Linked DNA regions of Homo sapiens: region 1 is linked to region 2. The links are contacts of gene promoters, found by promoter capture Hi-C in human tissues and cell types (Jung and others, 2019). All regions are on one chromosome and are shown on one strand. The core of a region is centred on a gene start or on the middle of the fragment in contact, and the rest is flanking DNA. Distances in the headings are between cores, read along the strand shown. Region 1 overlaps OSBP2 (oxysterol binding protein 2). Region 2 holds the start of SEC14L3 (SEC14 like lipid binding 3).

Region 1 (5,805 bases), core at 1,429-3,928, 290 kb before region 2:
GGAGGAAATTCTTCCAAGTCCTACCTGTTAGAGGATTTTCATTTTGGAGCAATAGGGTGGCAGGCTGTCCAGGTATTCTTTAGGGCCAGCCTCTAGGGCCACCAGCCACCCAACCCCCTCCTCATCCCCGCCCACCCCACTCTACTGCCTGCTCTAGTTGCTCTAAGGGCAGAGCCTGGGCTGCCTGGGATAATTCCAAGTGCTGGGCTGTGATATCAGAATAGAGTTATGACATCAATGGAGGGTAGGCGAGCCTAGGGGAGGCGAGAACCGGGGAGCCCCTGAGGCGCTAGGCTAGCCCCCCAGAAGTGAAGGCCCAAGAGGGAGGTGGCCAGCTCTGTATCGGTTTCTTACAAACCTGAACATCAGAAAATGACTCACAGGTACGGAGAGATTTGTTGCAAGCCAGCCAACCTGCTGGTGCTTCCCTAGACACTGAGTTACAGAAAAGAAAGCGAACAAGCCATCTTCTAGCGCCCCCCTGTGTCAAGTAAAAGGATACTATCTCTTTTCTGACTTGGAGGTTTGCCTTTGGACCAGGGAGTTGGGAGCAGAGACCCCAAGTGGGCTGGGGGTCAAGGTCCCCCAGGATAGGGTTAAATGCTCGTAGATAAAATGCAGGATGCCCAGTTACATTTGAATTTCAGACACACAATAAATAAATTTTAGTATATAGACTGCCCAAATATTGCATGAGACATCCTTATACTAAAATATTATTCGTTTTGTATTTGAAGCTCAAATTAAACTGGGTGACCTGTGGGTTTTTTTTTTTTTTTCTGTCACTCTGTTGCCCAGGCTGGAGAGCAGTGGCTCAATCTCGGCTCACTGCAACCTCCACCTCCTGGGTTCAAGCAATTCTCCTGCCTCAGCCTCCCAAGTAGCTGGGATTAGAGGCATGCACCACCACACCTGGATAATTTTTGTATTTTCAGTAGAAACAGGTTTCACCATGTTGGCCAGGCTGGTCTTGAACTTCTGACCTCAAGTGATCTGTCCACTTCAGCCTCCCAAAGTGTTGGGATTACAGGCGTAAGCCACTGCACCCGGCCAACCTGTGTTTGTATATTTTGAATCTGCCAATCCCACTCAAGGAGCTTTTGAAAAAAAATACAAATACCCTCTGCACCCAAAAGTCATTCTCATTCTGTTTTAGCAGGGCAGGGGACTTCTTGGGAACCTGTATTATTTTAAAGCTGCGAAAGTGACTATCAATAACTGCAGCTTACTTTAGTCGAGTGTTTGCCAAGCCGTGTGCCAAGATCTCTTCACACATTATCTAAACTAATCCTCACAGCACCTCTAAGAGTTGGTTCTATCATGAAACCCATTTTACAAAGGAGAGAAATGATGCAAAAGACGGCAAGCAACTTGTCCAAGGTCACACAGTGGGTAAGTGTGGGAGCCACGATTTGAACCCAGGCAGGCTGGCTCCAGCATCTCTGCTTCCACTGACTTAGAAATCTTTGATTGAAGGGACCCTGGGAAGCACAGAATTGAAGCTTCTAGGGGACTGACAAGCGGGGACTCTGAGGCTCTAGGAAGCCCATGCTCAGACTAACTGCTACGCTACCATGCTCGAGGGGCTGAGCCAAGGAGCAAACACCTGGGAGCAAACATCTGGCCCAGGCAGGAGGCTGGCTCAGAGAAGGCTTTCCTGAATGGCCTCTCCCTGGAGGGTAAACAGACTTGAGGAAAATAGGGTGTGGGAAGGGGCTGGATACTAGGGAACAGACCTTGCCAACAAGAGGTACAGCATTCACGCTGGCTGGCAGCAAGATGGTGTGCCAGTGAAGACAGCAGAAGCTGGATGGGTCTAGAGCGCAAGAGGAGCCAGAGAAGAGACATAAATCAAAATTGCATTTTTTTTTTTTGGAGACGGAGTCTTGCTCTGTTGCCCAGGCTGGAGTGCAGTGGTGCAATCTCAGCTCACTGCAAGCTCTGCCTCCTGGGTTCACCCCCTGCCTCAGCCTCCCGAGTAGCTGGGACTACAGGCGCCCGCCACCACGCCCGGCTAATTTTTTGTATTTTCAGTGGAGACAGGGTTACACCGTGTTAGCCAGGATGTCTCGATCTCCTGACCTCGTGGTCCACCCGCCTTGGCCTCCCAAAGTGCTGAGATTACAGGCGTGAGCCACCGCGCCCGGCCCAAAATTGCATTTTATTTTTATTTTATTTTTTATTTTTTATTTTTTGAGATGGAGTCTCACTCTGTCACCCAGGCTGGAGTGCAGTAGTGTAATCTCGGTTCACTGAAACCTCTGCTTCCCAGGTTCAAATGATTCTCTCCTGACTCAGCCTCCAAATAGCTGAGACTACAGTTGCACACCACTATGCCTGGCTAATATTTCTATTTTGGGTAGAGATGGAGTTTCGCCATATCGCCCAGGCTGGTCTCGAACTCCTGGGCTCAAGTGATCCACCCGCCTCGGCCTCCCAAACTGCTGGGAGTATTATAGTTGTATGGTTTACATTTTGAGTTAAATTTTATATAAATAAGAAGTATAAATCAAGATTCATTTTATTGCATATGGATGTCCAATTGTTCCAACACTACTTGTTGAAAAGACTAACCTTTCTCAATTAAATTGTTTCTGCACCTCTGTCAAAAGCCATCTGACCATATTTGTCTGGGCCCATTTCTGGACTCTCCATTCTGTTCCATTAATGTATATGTCTATCTCATTAATCTATATAGTGTTTGCCAACATCACACTGTCTTGTTTCTTTATGATAAGTCTTAAAATTGAGTAATTACTCCACCTTTATTCTTCTTTTTCAAAGTTGCTTTAGCTAGTCTAATTTCTTTATCTTTTCATATAAATGTATAATAAGTTTGTCTATGCTGAGAAAATGTCCTGCTGGGATTTTTTTTGGAATTGCATTCAAGCTACTGATCAGTCAAGGGAAAACTGACGTCTTTACTCTCTTGAATCTTCTGATCCATGAGCATTGTATGTCTCTCCATTTATTTTGGTCTTCTATTTCATCAGTATTTAACACTATTTACATATAGATACTATATTTGTTTTGTTATAATTATATCTAAGTATTTCATGGGGTCATTGTAAGTGATTTTTAAAAATTTTTTGTTACCAATTGTTCATTGCTAATACACAGAAATATGACTGGCCTTTATGTACTGACCTTGTATTCTGTGACCTTGTTAAACTCACTCTAAAAATATTTTTGTAGATTTCCTGGGATTTTTCTACACAGCCATCATGTCGCTTGCAAATAGGGATAGCTCTGTTTCTTTCTTCCCAATCTGAGTGCCTTTGACTTCTTTTTTCTTGCATTATAATACTGGCTAGTATTAGGATGAATATGAGGGGTGAGCATGGACATCCTTGACTTTACTGATCCTAGGCGGAAAGTAAAGCATTCAGTCTTCTATCACTACATATGATGTCAGTTTCTTGAAGATGCCCTTAATCAGGTGGAGGAGTCTCCTAGTTTGCTGAGAGTTTTTACCATGAATAATGTTAAATTTTGTCAAATGCCTTTTTCTGTATCAATTGATATTATAATGTAGTTTTTCTTAGATTGTTAATATTATGATTCCATTTATATTGATTTTCTTTTTTTTTTCTTTTTTTGAGACAGAGTCTTGCTCTGTTGCCCAGGCTGGGGTGCAGTGGTGCGATCTCCACTCACTGCAACCTCCGCCCTGCCAGGGTTCAAGCGATTCTCCTGACTCAGCCTCCTAAGTAGCTGAGACTACAGGTGTGCACCACCATGCCTGGCTAATTTTTGTATTTTCAGTAGAGACAGGGTTTCACCATGTTGGCCAAGCTGCTCTTGAACTCCTGACTTCAAGTGATCTGCCTGCATTGGCCTTCCAAAGTGCTGGGATTACAGGTGTGAGCCACTGCCCCCAGCCCCATTTATTGATTTTCAAACATGGAACCTATCTTGCACCTATCTTGCACTCATCTTGCACTCCTAGCATGAAATCCACTTGATCATGGTGTAATATTCTATTGTATTGCTGGTTTCAAATTGTTAATATTTTGTTGAAGATGTTTTCATCTATGCTCATGAGAAATATTGGTCCGAAGTTTTCTTTTCTTACACTATCTTTGTTCAGTTTGGTATCAGGGTATGCTGTCCTTATAAATGAGTTAGAAATTACTCACTCCTGTAATCCTAGCACTTTGGGAGGCCAAGGCGAGCAGATCACTTGAGGTCAGGAGTTTGAGACCAGCCTGGGCAACAGTGCAAGACTCTGTCTCAAAAAAAAAAAAAAAGCCGGGTGCAGTGGCTCACGCCTGTAATCCCAGCACTTTGGGAGACCAAGGCAGGCGGATCACCTGATGTCAGTAGTTCAGGATGACCCTGGCCAACATGGTGAAACCCTGTCTCTACTAAAAATACAAAAAAAAAAATTAGCTGGGCGTGGTGGCACATGCCTGTAATCCCAGCTACTAAGGAGGCTGAGGGAGGAGAACTGCTTGAACCTGGGAGGCAGAGGTTGCAGTGAGCCAAGACTGCACCACTGCACACTCCAGCCTGGGCAACAGAGCGAGACACTGTCTCAAAAAAAAAAGAAAAGAAAAATTAAAAAAGAAAAGAAATTACTCATTCCTCTTCTGTTTTCTGGAAGAGATTGTGTGGAAATAGTGTTATTCTTTTTTCAAATATTTGATAAAATTTACCTGTGAAATCATGTAGGCCTGAAGACTTCTTTTTTGAAGTGTTTTAAACTATGAATGCAACTTCTTTAATAGTTATAGGATTATTCAGTTTATGGATTTGATCTTGGGCAAGTGTTAGAATTTGATTTTTGAAGAATTGGTTCATTTCATCCAAGTTGTCAAATTTGTCAGCAGAGTTGTCTGTAGCATTCCTTTTATGTATTATGTATCTATTTTATGTTTTTGTAGTATTGTCCTTTTATGTTTGTTAGTGCTATTAATTGTTTATTTCATTCCTGATGTTGGTAATTTGATATTTTCATTTTAGCAGTCTATCAAATAAGTTGGGTTAAGGCCACAGGTAGTGACCAGCCGTCTCTGGGTGGTGGTTTCACTGTTTGTTCCATTTTCAAAGCCTTTGCAGTACTATTTGTTTTTGTTTTTGAGACAGAGTCTTGCTCTGGAGTGCAGTGGTGCAATCTCGGCTCACTGCAAGCTCTGCCTCCCAGGCTCAAGCGATTCTCCTGCCTCAGCCTCCCGAGTAGCTGGGATTACAGGTGTGCACCACCACGCCTGGCTAATTTTTGTATTTTTAGTAGAGACGGGGTTTCACCGTGTTGGCCAGGCTGGTCTCGAACTCCTGGCCTCAAGTGATCCACCTGTCTCGGCTTCCCAAAGTGCCAGGTTACACTGCGCCCGGCCCTTTGCAGTACTAGTTGGATCTGTTCCACATGTGTGCCAGCCAGTGGCCACAGGGACGTGGGTATTCATGCAGCTTTAAGTTCAGTTCTCAAAATCTTTAGTATGCTGTTTAGGATCAGATCCATCCATGTGCGGCTTGAACGTGAAGCCAGGAGTTCATGAAAACAACGTTATGGGGTCACTTTCCCAAGGTGTTCTCTTTCTGTGATTTCCTGTTTTTTTCTGGTTCTCTTGGGCTCTGTTTCAGTCCTCTGGCTGCCCACTTCCCACCACCACACCTATATCGGGGGCTAAGTGGTAGGAAGAGTGAGAGAAAAATGGAACAGGGGTTCCCTCACTTCTTGGGCCCAGAGCTCTTCCTACTGGTGTGCATGGATTCCTCTGAGTTTTTGGTACCTGCAGGCCTCTCATCGCCACTGCTATCACTGACAGGGGACCCTTTCCTCCTTGAGCCTGAACTAGAGGG
Region 2 (6,278 bases), core at 2,423-4,922:
CAGCCTCAAACTCCTGGGCCCAAGCGATCCTGCCTCTGCCTCCCAAGTAACTGGGACTACAGGTGTACGCCATCATGCCCAGCTAATTTTTAAATTTTTTGAAGAGACAGGGTCTCACCATGTTGCCAGGCTGATCTCAAACTCCTGGCCTCCAGCAATCTTCTCACATCAGCCTCCCAAAGCACTGGGATTATAGGTGTGAGCCTCGGCACCTGGCTTCCATCTCCCCTTTTCAGGCCACCCACTTCACATCTGTGTGGTCTAAATGCCCCCTACTCACCTCCTCCCAGTGATGCCTGCCCTATGTCGAGGCTCCTGTACCCCCGGGAAGGGCCCCTTTAGACCTACCCAACTGCTTCTGGCAAGATCCATCCTGGGAGGGAGGGTGATCAGGAATGTGCCAGGGATGGACTGAAAGGGGTGGCTGTTTCAGATTTCCTAGTAACCGGCTGACAGGAGAGGTTGGGGCGCAAGCAGCTCTATCTACCCACCTGCGGTTGTTTGTTTAAGTTGTGGTTGTTGCCATGGTCCCCTGAGAGCTTGGTAAATGAGGAGCCAAACACACATGGGACCTTACCTGTAGACAGTGTGCTCTGGGGTTTAGGGGGCAGGCTGGGGGTCTCTCCTTCCCCAAGGCCTTTGTTTCAAGGCAGGCAAAATTAACCCTTCTGGCCCCAAGACACCCTGCAGCCTGAATCCAGCTTGAATCCAGGCAGATCCAGGCTTCTACACAATGACGATTTAAAGCATTTATTGAGCACTTACTATATTCTGGACACAATATTAAGCCCTACAGGGGAAAGCAGGGTGGGCTGTGCAATCCAGAGTCAGATAGGTTTGGGTTCAAGTTCTGGCTCCTCATTTACTGGCTGTGTGACCTCAGAAAAGTTTCTTGATCTCTCTGAACTTCTATTTGTTTAGCTGTAAAATGGGAATACCCATACCTGCTTCTGAATGATTTGATAATGATATAAAGCTCCCAGCACAGAGGGTATGCTCACCAATGGGAGACTGTGAGCTCTATGCAAGCTGGGTCCTAATCTGTCTTGTTTGCTGTAATCTACCCCCTCCACATGCTTCTCACTTTCCCACCTCCATGCCTTTGCCCATGCCATCCCCTCCACTTGGGATGCCCTTTATTCTGCTCTCCATAAATCAAAATCCTTCCTTTCTTCAAGGCCTGGCTCAGATGCCAACTGCATCACATATAGGTGACTTTCATGCTTAGGCTCTCTCCCTAACTAAGGTGGAAGCTCCTAGAGCCAAGACTATGGGATAGCATAACAGCACAATGGCAGAGTGGTTAATTGCATGGGTTTACCCCTGGATAAGTTACTTCTCCATACCTCAGTTTGCTTATCTGCATAATGGGCGTAATAGTACCTACCCAACACCACAGGTATGTTCTGAGGTTTAAATGAGGTAATGCACTGCTTTTTTCTTTTTTGAGATGGAGTCTCACTCTGTCCCCCAAGCTGGAGTGCAGTGGCATGATCTCGGCTCACTGCAACCTCCGCCTCCCAGGTTCGGGCCATTCTCCTGCCTCAGCCTCCTGAGTAACTGGGATTACAGGCATCCGCCATCACGCCCGGCTAATTTTTGTATTTTTAGCAGACACGGTTTTGCCATGTTGGCTAGGCTGGTCTGGAACTCCTGACCTCAGGTGATCCACCTGCCTCGGCCTCCCAAAGTGCTGGGTTTACACGTGTGAGCCACCTCACCAGGCCAAAATGAGGTAATGCATGTAATGAGACCCCATCTCTACAAAAAATATAAGAAATTAGCAGGGCGTGGTGGAATGTGCCTGCAGTCCAGGCTACTCCGGGGGGTTGAGGTGGGGAGGATTGATTGAGCCTGGGGAGGTCGAGGCTGTAGTGAGCCGAGATCATGCCACTGCACTCCAGCCTGGGCAACAGAGTGAGACCCTGTCTCAAAAATAAAATAAAATAAAGTAGAATAAAATAAAAATGGGCCACCTGCACCATCCAATATGGTAACCACTAGCCAGATTGAACAATTTAAAGTAAAATGTATCAAAATCCAATTCAATTAAAACTTCAGTTCCTCAGTCACGCTAACCATCTTTCACATGTAACTAGTGGCTACCAGATATGTCTAACAGGACACCCCAGACAGAAGATGTCTACCATCACAGGAAGTTCTGTGGAGTGGCACTGTAGCTGATGAGGATTTGTGAACATAGCAAGGTACTTGACAAATCTGTGGTCTGGGTCAGGAAAAGAGCTCAGTGTGAAGGCTCACAACTCCTGAGGAGACCCCCAACCCTCCCTCCTGGCTCTCCTTCACAGTCTCCGATGCCCCTAGAAGTAACTAGCACACCTCACATTATAGGGATTAGGGTGAGAAAGGAGACTGGTGAGAAATGGGCAGGATTAGTGGCTCGGGAAAGGGCAGTGGAGGAACCCAATCTCTGTACATTACTGGCCTGGCAGGAAGTGGGTGTAGACAGCAGCTGGGGCTTTGCAGAAATTGAGGCTGGAATGTGAAATGGGGCAGGGCTGGGGTGTGGAGAGTTACCTAACTGTTCCTGAGTACATGCCACGGGCTCCCCAGGCAGAGGGAAATGGCCAGCATTAGCCCTGCCTTCTCCTTCTGGATCCAACTCTGTGAGGAGCCCAGAGCAAGGAAGATGTCCCTGAGAAGATGTCTGATACTGACCAACATCTACTAGCCTAAAGAGACCCTGGGTTAGCCCAGAATAGAGGCCCACTGTAGCTCAGGGGTGGGTACCCAGGATGCCCCAGGAGTAGGGGACCTAGAAAAGCCCTAGGCAGAATGGTGTGGGCTAGCCCAGCTGCTGGGGCCGAGGCTAGCCCGGGGTTGGTTTCAGCCCATGCAGACCCCCTCAAGGCTGAGATGTGGCCATGTGGCCATGTGGCCATGCTGCAGCCTCAAGCTGATGGTTTCTTCAGAGAGAGTCATGGATAACAGGGTCTCTCCCTTCCTGGAGCTGAAGCTTACAGCTCCAGGGGGGACCAGGAGAGCTGAAGGAGAGTATCCCTCAGATGCACACAACCCTTGACAGTCCCTATGTCTCATTAGATCTTCCCTCTAACCACATAAGGAGGGGAAGGCAAACATTAACGGCCCCATTTTATAAATGAAGCAAGTGACGTTCAAAAGATGCCATCTGTCCTCTTCTTGACTGTGGACACAAAAGAAGGACCTGGGCCTCCCACCCCCAACAAAGTGAATGAACTGTTTACTACACTGACCAAGCCTCAGAATCCTACCCTTTCAGAGCTGGGTAGAGGGGGGTGATCTTTGCAGAATCCTAAGTGTGGGAAGACTGGGGCTCAGGGAGAAAGGGTACCCACAAGGAGCGGTCCTCATTCTCCTGAAACTCCCCCTTCTCCAGGGCAGTGGTCACTGGAGGCCTGGGAGGGTCAGCGGGTTCTACAGGCACTCACTCTGGGCTCCAAGGTCACGGGAGGCCAGCCTCCCTTCCTCCCAGCTGCCTCCTCCTGGCAGGGGACCTCTGGCACACGCTCCATGCCCGCCTGCCCCTCCAGATCTGTCCCCAAGCCAAGCAGGGGACCTCACTTAATCCCAATTATGTAATCTGCAATTTAAACAGTTGGCCCATGAGGAGGCGCTTGGAGCCACGCCCAGGAGTGGGGGCAAAAGGACCCAGCTGGGTCAGGGCTGACAAACTAGGCTTGGCCTCTTGCCTATAGTGGCCACCACTCCTCAAGCCCCAGCCAGCACCATGAGCGGCCGAGTTGGAGACCTGAGCCCCAAACAGGCAGAGACCCTGGCCAAGGTGAGAGCCCCTCCCCCTGGAGTTCCGGAAGACCAGGGGAAAGGGGCTGGGGGGTGGAAAGAAGTGGCTGGAATCCTGCCCCACTCAGTTGATTCAGCATGTCCTTGACATTGTCTCTTTGGTGTTACCTCCCAAAGGGTCAAGCCCCACGGTGCCCAGTAACATCAACCCTGTCCCGGGCGGGGGTTGAGGGACTAGCACCACTTCCAGGCAATAACGTGGGTGGTGCCCACCCAAGTCAAGCCTGACTTCTTCTCATCCAGGAGCCAGAACCAGAGAGGTTTACCTGGCAGCCAGGTACCCCCGTTCCTCCCTCCCAGGCACCATAGGTAGGAGCTGAAAGATGCTGCTGGTCTGCCCTTTAACCCCTTCCTCTTTGGGATCCTGAAAGATGACCAGTCTGTAAAAGCCCAAGAGACAGAGCAGAAAGTGTTGTCTTTCAAAGAGCTAAAGGAAGAAGAGGACATATAATTATTAACCATGTTTTAATAGAAGATGGGATGAAAAAAAGCAGATGTTTTGAGGGCTAACACATGGAGGGAACTAAGAATGCATCCAAACTCCAATCCACTTATTCATCCACCCAATTATTTATCCTTTCTTCTTCTTTTTCTTCTTTTTTTTGAGATGGAGTCTCTGTCATCCAGGCTGGAGTGCTGTGGAGCGATCTCAGCTCACTGCAGCCTCTGTCTCCCAGGTTCAAGCAATTCTCCTGCCTCAGCCTCCTGAGTAGCTGGGATTACAGGCATGTGCCACCACACCTGGCTAATTTTTGTATTTTTAGTAGAGATGAGTTTTCACCATGTTGGCCAGGCTGGTCTCAAACTCCTGACCTCAGGTGATCCACCAACCTCAGCCTCCTAAAGTGCTGGGATGACAGGCGTGAGCCACCATACCTGGCTGTTTATCCTTTCTTTCATCCACCCATCCCTCTTCCTACCCACGCAGCCACCTATCCATCTTTCTTTCTCTCAATCACCCACCCATCTCTCCTCTGTCCATTCACTGATTTATCCACCCACCCACTCTCCATCCATCCATCTATCCATTCATCCATTGATTTCTTCTCCCTTTTTCCATCTACCTACCCACTCACCCATCTATTCTTCTTTCTAACCATTTATTCATCCATCTATCCTCCTTCCATTCATCCACCTATCCAGTGATCCATCTGCCCTTCTATTCAACCATTAACCCATCCTTTCATCAATGTGGGCCATTTTGCATGTGGGAGGAAAGGAGAGGTTGTGAAAACAGTCTTTGAGTCTGGAGGCCAAGGCTCAATGTGAGAGAGCCACTTTAACCAGCATCTCTCTTGCCAGTTCCGAGAAAACGTCCAGGATGTGCTTCCTGCCCTGCCCAACCCTGATGATTATTTCCTTCTACGCTGGCTCCGAGGTGAGGGCAGAGGTGGGAGAGGTTGGGATCAGGGGGCATCAAGAGGGGCCTGGTCTCAACTGCTCCAGAGTGTCTCATGGCTCTCAGGGTCCATCCACACAATCTTGCTTCACATGTTCAGGTCCAGAGGAGGGAAGGGGGTAGGGGAGCAAGGTCTCACCCAGGCCCCCAGTGTCCTCCATAGCTCCCACTGGCCAGGAGTAAGACAAGGCATCTTTCCTGTCTCACACCTTCCTTCTGTTTTCCCACAGCTCGGAATTTTGACTTGCAGAAGTCGGAGGCTTTGCTCCGCAAGGTGAGACCTATCCACTCTGGAAATTTATGGAGGGGATTTGTCAGGGGCAATCCATGCCTCAAGCCCCTCCTTCCATCCCTGTTCTCAGGGCACTGGGAGCCCAGTGGGATCTTACCACTCATTTCCCTTTCAGTACATGGAGTTCCGGAAGACCATGGATATTGACCATATCCTTGATTGGCAGCCCCCAGAGGTGAGCCAACACCGCCAAACACCTCAGTCTTTCACGGACGTACCACTCAAGGTCACTGGGGACCATGAATGAGGGGCAGCAAGCCTGAGAGGCCTGTGGAACCCGCAGGCCTGCAGTCTCCTTTCCTACAGTCATAATGAATGTTTCCTGGGGGCTTGCAAGGTCCAGGCCTAGGTTAAGATGTTAGCAGCATGAGCTTCTTTAATCATCACAATGATGGATGCTATTGTCCCCATTTTGTGGATGAGGACACTGAAGCCCAGCAAAAATTAGGTAACTTGCCCACAGTCCCATAGCCCAAGGTAGGGCTGGGATTTATGCTCAGGCCTGTTTGGGCCCCCAAACCCAGGCTCGTAACCACCACGGTTAGCCTGTGCTTCTGCACCCCTGCCCCCTAAGGCATTGCCTAAAGCATCCTGTCTGGGTGGGAAAGAAGTTTAGCCCATCAAGGCACTGATGAGGACAGTGCCACCACTGGCATCTTAGTAGAGTAATGGTCACGTCTTCACTTGTAGGGCATGTACCCGGATCTGGGCACTCTGCTTTGCCAACTTTATCTCAGGGACTTTCCCCAACAGTCCCAAGAGTGAGGGGTTATCCAAACCATT

The links. The method cuts DNA at HindIII sites, captures the fragments that hold promoters and counts their contacts. A contact is called where the count stands out against the background at its distance.
Region 1: a fragment that was not itself captured here is called in contact with the fragment with the promoter of SEC14L3 in region 2 in 1 of the 25 tissues and cell types used here (lymphoblastoid cells).

The regions. Positions count from the first base shown.
Region 1 is chr22:30,758,612-30,764,416 of GRCh38, reverse strand. All of the region lies in intron 2 of OSBP2 (oxysterol binding protein 2), which reads right to left. Among named protein-coding and RNA genes, the nearest start is that of MIR3200, 30 kb to the right of the region's middle. RefSeq lists a silencer at 438-487. The HindIII fragment of the contact is 5,000 bases long and covers 179-5,178 here.
Region 2 is chr22:30,469,411-30,475,688 of GRCh38, reverse strand. SEC14L3 (SEC14 like lipid binding 3) reads left to right here and starts at 3,672. Exons shown (of 12, transcript NM_174975.5): 1 at 3,672-3,784; 2 at 5,107-5,182; 3 at 5,434-5,477; 4 at 5,611-5,670. The coding sequence starts at 3,731. The HindIII fragment of the contact is 19,065 bases long and covers 1,464-6,278 here.